Linked DNA regions of Homo sapiens: region 1 is linked to region 2. The links are contacts of gene promoters, found by promoter capture Hi-C in blood cells and fetal thymus (Javierre and others, 2016). All regions are on one chromosome and are shown on one strand. The core of a region is centred on a gene start or on the middle of the fragment in contact, and the rest is flanking DNA. Distances in the headings are between cores, read along the strand shown.

Region 1 (5,176 bases), core at 1,891-4,390, 500 kb after region 2:
GCCTCCCCAAATATTGCACTCACGTGTAAGTTGTAGTCCTTAATCCAAATGTTCACTAATGGATGAATGAACAAACAAACTGTGGTGTATACATACAAAGGAATGTCATTTGGCCTTAAAGTGGATGGAAATGCTAACATGTGCTACAACATGGATAAACCTTGAGGACATTATGCTAAGTAACATAAGCCAGTCACAAAAAGACAAAAACTGCATGATTCCACTTAGATGAGGTACTTAGAGTAGTCAGACTCACAGAGACAGAAAGTAGAATGGTACTTGCCAGCGGCTGAGGTTGGGAAAAACAAGAAATAAAAAATAGCAGGTGCTGCTGAGGCAGGGCTGGTGCCCAGGCGTCTGTGGGACTAACCTCTTCAGCCCGTCACTCTCTAACCACATGGCAGGAGGCATAAGAACAGGAAGGGGTGTGGCATTAGGAAGAGATGAGAAACAGAATCAGCACCTGGAATGCTAGCACCAAGAAGCCAGAATTTGCCACAAAGTTGAGCTCTGAGCCTGAACACATCTCCAAGAAGGATTTAGCTCATGTAAAATTTAGTGACTCATGCCTGACAGAAACACAACAGAACATACAAACATACATAAACAGCTATATCCCAAAACACAAGCAGAAAAAGACAAAATTCAGTCATCTGGATAACTTGCCTGCATGATATCAAGCTGCCAGTCTTTGGATGACTGACTTAAGTCTTTATGTCTGACTTTTTGGCCTCAGCATGCCCAAAAGAGTTGAAGTCCAACAGCAGGCTGGCACTCTTTGTCCATTACATTAAACCTGCCACACAGTTATCTTAAGAATTCTCATGGTCAGTAGAGAACATATATGTTAATTTAACATTTGAAAATGAAATGTTGGCCAGGCGCAGTGGCTCATGCCTGTAATCCCAGCACTTTGGGAGGCCAAGGCAGGCAGATCACGAGGTCAAGAGTTTGAGACCAGCCTGACCAACATGGTGAAACCCCGTCTCTACTAAAAACACAAAAATTAGCTGGGCGTGGTGGCAAACGCCTGTAATCCCAGCTACTCAGGAGGCTGAGGCAGGAGAATTGCTTGAACTCGGGAGGTGGAGGTTGCAGTGAGCTGAGATTATACCGCAGCACTCCACCCTGGGGGAAGGAGTGAGAATCTATCTCAAAAAAAAAAAAAAAAAAAGAAAGAAATATCACTGAGATAGTGTTTGTAAGCACTTTTGGCTCCATGAGGATGCTATGGGAGGCAGCCTTCTCCCAGGGCTCCAGAGGAGAATACTGCACACATCCCCTCTAGCCTTGAACTCAGACTTCTCAGTATGTTCTGACATCATTCCCTTTTACAGCCAACTCCACTGGATGAGAGGGAGGGGCAAGACACACAGCCTTCTCTGAGATCCCGCCACCATCCTCTTCAATTCTCTACCCCATCTTCCTTACCCAGAGGGCTTTGTCACTTCTCTGTTCTGGAAATCTGTTCTATGAAAAAATGGAACATCCAGCCCCATATATTTTCAAGTAGGAGATAGGACCCTGCCTTCCACCAAGACTCATGTGATGGAGGAATCCCCAAAATAGGAAGGGCCTCAGAACTCTTGAGAGATGAAAACAGGCTAATATCCACAGCAAGGACCAAGACTTTATTATTATTATTATTATACTTAAAATTTTAGGGTACATGTGCACAACATGCAGGTTTGTTACATAGGTATACATATGCCACGTTGGTTTGCTGCACCCATTAACTTGTCATTTATATTAGGTATTTCTCCTAATGCTATCCTTCCCCCTGTCCCCCACCCCATGACAGGCCCCCATGTGTGATGTTTCCCACCCTGTGTCCAAGTGTTCTCATTGTTCAATTCTCACCTATGAATGAGAACACATCATTTGACCCAGCGATCCCATTACTGGGCATATACCCAAAGGATTACAAATCATGCTACTATAAAGACACATGCACACGTATGTTTACTGCAGCACTATTCACAATAGCAAAGACTTGGAACCAACCCAAATGTCCACCAATGATACACTGGATTAAGAAAATGTGGCACATATACACCATGGAATACTGTTATATGCACATTCCATATGGAATATGCAGCCATAAAAAAAGACTTTTAAAACTAAGAAGGAAGAATGTGACTTCTTTTGTCCCTGGCTTAATTCTCTCTGATTCCCTCTAATCTAGCTATCTAAATAAAAGAATGTCACAAGCTGAAAGGAAATGTGAAGAAAAAAACATATGAATTAATAGCTCATGATATCCTGACAAATTTTATACCCATAATTTCTTATAATTCCATCAATTGGTATTTCTATTCCCATCTTGTAGGTGAGACTGTCCAGTTTTAGAAGGATTCCCTGTGATCTTAGGCAACTTCTTTTTCTTTATACCTCTGTGTCCTCACCCATAAGTTAGGATATATCTACCCCATAGGGCTGTACTCATGACCAAAGCTCATAGCTCCAAGCAACAACAAGCAGAGCTCCAGGGATGACAGTGTAGTGTGGAATGGACACCACTAAACAGAGAGGGCCTCAGGCACACTGGCTTCCACACTGGCTGCCACAAATCCTCCATGAACCATAAACACACCTCTTTACCTCTCTGAGCTTCCATGTCACCATCTGTAAAATAATAGTGTTAGACTAGACTATTGCCAAACTCCCTTCTATCTCTAAAATTCACTGTCCACAGGTTCACCCTGCAAGTTAGCTCCTAAACCCTGACAGAGTCCATGGGATGGGGCTGTGACCAGATGCTTGTTTCTCCTCACTGTCCCAGTTCCCAGAGGAGGCCTGGTCTCTCCCCTCAGCTCTGGAATAACAGTTTGATCTGACCTGTCAAACTGTGAGCATCAGGTACTGGTGTATCCTACACTCACAGCAACCCTAGGATCATTTTCATTTCATCATCATGCTATCTTTCTATTTAAATGAAAGATAGCATGATCAGAACAGCATGTGGTAAACAACAAAGCCCACAGGAAAGAAATGCAAGGACCCCAGGGCAGAGGGACAATCTCTGATCAGAAGGTCTGTAAAGGGTGCAGAACCCAGAAGTTCATTATGAGTGGGTGCCACTTAAGATTGTTTTTATTTTTCAGGCATAGTTTTTGCTAACATCATAATGTCATGTTGAAGGAGTTAAGGATATTATAGCCATGAGTTCATGCTGAGATCTCAAAAGAGGAAAAAGGAGAAATGATACTGTCTTTGCTCTGTGGCACCTCACGATGGAAATAATAGATGATAGATGTGTTTGGAAGTAAGGGAGGATTGGTGGCTAGGTGAGGTAAACAAAAAGAAAGCCTTGCCAGGTGCAGATCTGCATTTGAAACACGGCTGCTTGGAGTGGACCATAGATGTCACCTAGGGACACATGCTGCTCCCATCTCTCTGATTTAATTTTCCCCTACATGGGGATTTCTAAAATGGAGCATTAGTGACTCCCTCCTTTGTATTCCCACAGCTCTTAGGCCATATCTTTATTGTACTGCTTCAAATGCTAACTAACCACGGTCCATCCCCCACACCAGACTCTGAGGGTCCCTAGTGCCTTGGCATCCGGCAGGTTCTAGGTCATGCTTATTTTACCAACAAAAGCAGCAATTAATTCCAGCATGGGAAGCAGGGGTTGGGTGAAGTTCCACAAAGGTTTTAGCCTATGAGCAGGACTGTTTTTAAGCAAGGATTTTTCCAGATGAAAAGGCAGAAAAGTTTTGCAAACAGTGAAAAACCAAGGAGAGAGGAGAAAAGGCTAGAACAAAGAAAGACCCATAATCCCAGGAGGAGACTGGGGCATGAGGTCAACTTTTGGGAGACATGGAAATTAGTAACTGAGGCAGAAAACAGAGGACAACAGAAGTTTGAGATGGCTGTAGGAGACCCAGGAGATGTCCCAAAGGGAGGCAGTAGCATGGGTATGGAAGTCAGGAATCTGGATGACCCCAGAAAAGTGCTGAGGGGGAAAGGGTGAGGGCCAAGGACGTGGCTCTGAAGACAGGAACATTTCAGGGCCCAGAAAAGAACGCATGAAGGAGACTGTGTAGGAACAGAGGTAAGGCTGTGCTGGGAAAGCCATGAGGGAAAAGAGTTTCCCAGAGTCAAAAAACACAGGCAGCTGAGCTACCCTTTTAGATTTAGCCCAAAGAGCACAAGGAGTGGACGTCATTTCAAATCCCAGAGCCAGCTCTGGTTCAGTGGCCTGGCCTGGGTCACCAGGGCCCCACCTAGCCCCTGGCAGTTTTCGTGGAGACTGTGCAAATCCACTTTGGAACCAATGAATGGGTTTGTGTTCCAGGCTTATTGCAAAAGACTTGAAGTTCTGGTGTCTTACGGGGGAAAAAAAGAAAAACTGGTAACTTTTTTAATGCATGATAAAGAAAATGTGTGAGAATGTTCCCTGAGGTGATGGGTGGTTATTTTCCCATCAGTAAATCTCTGTGAAACAATCCGGGACTGTCCTTCCTCAAGGAGCTGAGGCCGCTCACAGAGGCCACCATCTGGGCAAGCAGGTGTGGCTGAAAAGCACACTGACAGGCCCGCCACGAACGCACGTGCAGAAGCTGATGTTTCTTTAAACGCTGCAGCTGCTACTCGTAGATCCTGACGCTGCTTGTGCCTGGCTATTAGAATCGTTGCGGAGTCGGGGAGGGAAGGGGGATGTTTAATGCCTTAGCTCTGCGTAACCTATCCCAATTCTGTTTGCTACATAATGTGCATTTGTGTTTCACTAGAGTGCTTGAATCTAGCAAATGTGTTACAAGGCTGCAGAGACTGAGTTGGTCGGCTGCCGGGATCATTTCTCAGAAACTCACCTAGTGGTCTCACCTAAGGCTGGATTCTAAAATGTCTTAGGTCCATCCTGAATTCGGGCAGGAGAGCTCACAGATTCCCCTGTTTGCCAACTGGTGCCTGAAATTCCTAAATGCAAATCCTTTGGATTGGAGCATTGTCCTTGGGGACAAAGAAATGCCCTTGGGCTTCTAGCTAACAAACAAGAGAACATTCTAAAAACCACCCCACCAAAATCACCTACATGAACAAAGGAAATATCATAAAATGAGAAAAACTGTCCATGCAATAACATAAAGTCTTAGAAATTACAGCACTCTCGATTCCAATACAACATTAAATAATCCCCCCGGATCTACGGCAGGCAGCCAGCCCCTATGCT
Region 2 (4,645 bases), core at 1,934-4,433:
AAGATCAGCCTCATGAAACTGGACTTGCTGTGTATTGATAAAGAGAAGCAGCCCTGGAAATCTGATATATTCTTTACCTGGAAACCCCTGCAAAATCCTCATTGTTCTCTGTTGCCATTGCTGATGCTTGGTAACAAAACCTTGCTTCATATCAAGTAGTTTTCATCCTCCCTCCACCAATTGCTTTGAGAGAGGCTAGGCTCAGCCCCAACTCCTACACTGAATTCTAGTTCACCTTAGACTCTCATGGTAGCCTCTTTCCTCTTGACTGTGATTAATTAGGCAAGAACATGTGACACAATTCTGGTCAAGGAGATGTGAGAGGAAGCCAGCTGAAGGCTTTTGAGAAGTGTTTCCTTGCTCTTGAGAAGGAATACACAGGAAAAGATGGCCTTTTCTTCTAGTTATTGTTGTCTAGACATGATGCCAGCAGCTGCTAGTAGCCATAGGAGAACTAGCCCAAAAATTAAGGACAAAGCTGATGTGCTGGGAATGGCATGGCAGAAAGAAGGAAGGAACAAAGGGCTTTGATGACACTGAGGAGCTGCTATATTAACCAACTCTGGAGCCACTCTGCCTTTGGACTTCTTGTGATGTGAGACAATAAATTATTCTTATTGATTAAACTATGTTATGTTGAGTTTTCTGGTTTAAAGGGAATTTGATCTTTTGCTGTTTCATCTCTTGGCCTACACTTCTTTTTTGGCCTGTACTCTTTGCATCTGTTGTTTTCTCTTTTACAGTGCATTCAGCTGAAAGCATCCTAAAAGATACTGTCTCATTGGCTCTAGCTGGGTCATGTGCCCATTCCTGACCATGCATGCACTGTGGGGATGTGATGTGTGATGGGACTTAGGCTAGATGATCCAGTACTCTTCTGCAGTGAGATGGGCTCATCCCATCTGACTTCACGGGCAGAGTGTGGAGGAAAAGGCATATCTACTGAGAAATGAGGGTATGATTTCTATAAAATAGTGAAATATATGTTGTGAAACAAACATATCAGATATCTAATACTTTGTCCTTTTGAATGTGCCCTTTATTACAGAATGGCCTCAAATCGTGAGTACAGTGGGTAAGAAGTAGGCTATCTGTTACTTCGTCTGGTAGCCCAGCAAACGTAACTACGGAGGTGTTTTAGACCAAAGGTAGATCTGCTATGCTATTGACTCATCTAAATAGACTATGAAAATTTTTCCTGAGTTAGGCTCTCATATCTCTAGCTTTGGAACACAAGCCATTTTGAGATCATAGCAAAACACAGTGCGACCCACAGCCAAAACAGACAAAACACTCAGTTGCCAGATGATCCAGGGCTTCCTAAGAATACTAGAAAAAGCAGGCAGCAATTTAAGCAGCATGTGCCATCCCTCAGGCCCCAAGGTTTTCTGGCACCCTTCTGTCATGCCCCCTGAGGTTCAGTTGGTCTCATGGCTCTGACTCAGTGTGGTATGTAGAAGAGTGGGGCCTCAGGTCAGCCTGTGTCTAGTGATTTCAATTCTGCTCTTGGCTGCAATTCCAACTGTCAAGAAAGTTTTGCAGTCAGCCATTTGATAGTGGAAGGGTTAGCCCATGAAACTGAATTTCCTGTGTATCTGGAAAGAGAGGCAGCCCTAGAGATCTGACATGCTCTGTGAAAATTAGGGGTTCATTTTTGCTATTGCTGGTTAGTCTCTGCTGAACCTAATATATTTCAACATTTGAAGACTTTTTTTAAAAAGAAAATTTTTTTCTTTCTATTTTTTATTATGAACTTAAGTAACTTCATGGCAAAAAAATCTAATCAACATTAAACTATTTACTTCCCTCCAAAGTAATTTCCTCTCTGTCAATGCACAGACGTGCATTTTTACTTAGTTATAATTAGTGTGAACATACTCGTTTTTGTTTAAGAAAGGTTTTCTTTACCTTGGCATTCAGATTCGTTTTCATAGGCGAAGAAAGCACTGGGAAGGAGAAGGAACCTTTGCTGGCAAGTTGGGAGGATTATATGGGGTCATACTATCCCAGGGTTAAGGAAACCTTAAAGGACCCAACATCCCTCTCCATATCTCTTCTGATGATCCTTTTGTGCTCACAGACTAACCAGTGTGGCCTTTTCACTCAAAAGCCTCTCCAGATCTGCACAGCACCAAGGGTGCAGTCTGGCTCCCAAAGGAGTAATGCAATTCCATCCTCAGGTCTGCCAGGGCCCACCTGTCTGTCGTGGGCATGCACCATTGCCCTGGCTTTACTGGGCTGTTGGGTTGTCTAGTGGTTTTCCTTGCAGAAAGCAAGCAGGAACAATGCTGCTCCGGACTGGTTTTCCATACCACTCCTCTCAAATATCTTCTATTTTCTTAAGTGTGATCACACACCCATGGTTTCCAATCTATCAAAGCATAACATTGCTAGTCGCTTTTTTCTAAGTTAAGGAAGTAGCCATGTTGGGTTTAATTAAAAACAGCAACTATTTGTACAGCTGTCCCTAAGTTCATGGCTCATAAAAGGATTAACTTCAACCTTGCTGCCTAAGTCTTTTGGGAGTGTCACAAAAAAACATTTAGGCTTTTCTGGGCAGTGCCAGGCCTGGGCCTTGAGGCTTGCTGATGCTAGTTCAGCCACCAGGCTCTCGGTGCTCAAGTGGCACCCAGCAAAGCAGAGAAGAGCAGAACTTCCAGATACACAACTCCTCCTTCTTTTGTTTGGGGGATGCAAGGCCTTGAAGGCTGCTTCAACAAGTTTCTGAAAATTCCCCTCGGGTTGGGAAAGGCACAGTCTTCCTTTTGCAAGTTTTTCTAGAGCCCTTCGTACTTTTGCCCTAGAGTGGGTCTTTTGCACCCCCACCTCCCAGACCTCAGTGGTCATTGGCAGGCATCCTTCGAAGGAGGTGGGGGCGGGGTATCCCCGCCGATGGATGCGCCCGCACAAAGCAGCACGTTTTCTCATCAAAGCCCTGGAGAGAGGGAAGAAGCAACGCTCAGCATTTCGCTGATTTTCAAGTGCACACCGAGCAGCGCTTCAGGCAGCTTTGGGTCAGAACACGCCTGATTCGGACTTCAGGCGAAGGCAGAGGCCAGCACGGGTCACCGATTCAGAGCCGGGGGCGGGGCCGACCACACACGCTGTGAGACCCAGAGGCCGAGGAGCCGCGGGTTAGAAAATGTGACCTTGGCGACCCCAACGCCCCCGCCTCCCTCGCTGCTGCTCCACCTGCACGCGGAGCGCGCCGGGCCGCCAGCGGAGGCGATGGCCAGCCCTGCGCCCTTAGTGGCCTCCATCAGCCACCAAATGGTGGCTCTGCAGACCTTGCAGCTGCTGCAGCAGGAGTGGGGCTGGGGGGACGGTCCAGTCGCCCCCGGGAACCCGCGGGACCCAGACCACGTGTCCACCGCTCCAGCCCGTCGCTCAGGCCCGCCGCGGGCCCGGCCGGGGCCCGGGCGCGAGGAGCGGGGCGGGGGCGTGGGGACCAGGAGTCGGCGGACCGCGGCGCGGGCGAACTCCCCAGAGGAGGAGGTAGTGCGAGGCGCTGAGGGGGGCGCCGAGTTGCTGCCCTTCCCCCGGGACCGCGGGCCCTGCACCCTGGCCCAGATGGCGATGCGCAGCGCGCTGGCCCGCGTGGTGGACTCGACTTCGGAGCTGGTCAGCGTGGAGCAGACGCTGCTGGGGCCCCTCCAGCAGGAGCGGTCCTTTCCCATTCACCTGAAGGTGAGTCTGGCCCCCGCCATCCCCTCTGGCGTGCAGGGTAACCTCCCATCCTCCAAGGGTGGGGCTGCTGGGATGGCGATGGGTGGATCGCAGGATCCCAAACACTGCTGCCCACTGTGATTCAGCCCCAGTGGGAGAAGGAAGGGGGCGGGGGACACTCTGGGGACTCAGCAGGAGGGGCAGGGAGCCCCAGACCCACCTGAGGCCCGCCTGGCTGGCACAACCGAGATGTGGGGACTGCCTTGCCAAAACCTCCCCCTGGAACTCCTTCCTCTCTCACATAAATCAGCTTCCTGCGCTAGAAAGGCCCTTTCCACACGTGCAGCTTGTAGGGATAGAGGACAGCTCCCCCCACCCACTTTCCAAATTAATAACGCTTCCTCCAGAGCCTTAAATACACTTACTAAGTCCCTTCTGCCTTTTGTATGATGAAATCATCTACATTTATTTAAAGTTCCTTCACATTCATGAATCACTATTATTTTTTGCATAAATCCAATTCCCCACAGAGCTAAGGGGTCTTACAGAGTCAACCTACATTCTCATAAAGTGGGGTGAGAGCTGGGTGGGTCCCGGGTGTTAAAGCGTGAATACTAAATGCTAAACTCTTGCTAAGTCACCCAGCTCATATAGGTAGGGCACATTTCCTCTTAAGGTACCAAACTGTGTTAGCCAATTTAGCCCGGGAAGGGAGCAGCTGTCTCCCAGGCTGAGTGAGATTGCGGAAATCTGGGGGTCTGGGTTTCAGTCCTGGACTTGCCATTAACTAACCTAATTGGTTTAAGGTCACGAATCTCTCTGAGACATTCTGGCTTTCAGATTTTGACCAGGAGCATTGCTGTATTTTATTTCCCTGGGGCATCTAGCAGAAGGAGTTGGGGAGGGGTGATGAGGAGAGCTTAGAATATGTCTCAAGAGTTGCTATTCTGTACAAGCCAAGGTTTGGAAAAAGTTGCTA

What was found. Contacts are between HindIII fragments. The CHiCAGO score rates a contact against its expected background, and 5 or more counts as called.
Region 1: a contact is called between a fragment that was not itself captured here and the fragment with the promoter of DLEU7 in region 2, in 1 of 17 cell types (neutrophils). The highest score is 5.9, in neutrophils.

What each region holds. Positions count from the first base shown.
Region 1 is chr13:50,340,115-50,345,290 of GRCh38, reverse strand. All of the region lies in intron 2 of DLEU1 (deleted in lymphocytic leukemia 1), which reads right to left. Among named protein-coding and RNA genes, the nearest start is that of DLEU1-AS1, 180 kb to the left of the region's middle. The HindIII fragment of the contact is 7,213 bases long and covers 1-5,176 here.
Region 2 is chr13:50,842,230-50,846,874 of GRCh38, reverse strand. It overlaps DLEU7 (deleted in lymphocytic leukemia 7), which reads left to right and starts at 3,183. Exons shown (of 2, transcript NM_001306135.2): 1 at 3,183-3,687. The coding sequence starts at 3,229. All of the region lies in intron 4 of DLEU7-AS1 (DLEU7 antisense RNA 1), which reads right to left. RefSeq lists an enhancer at 3,327-4,253. The HindIII fragment of the contact is 9,888 bases long and covers 1-4,645 here.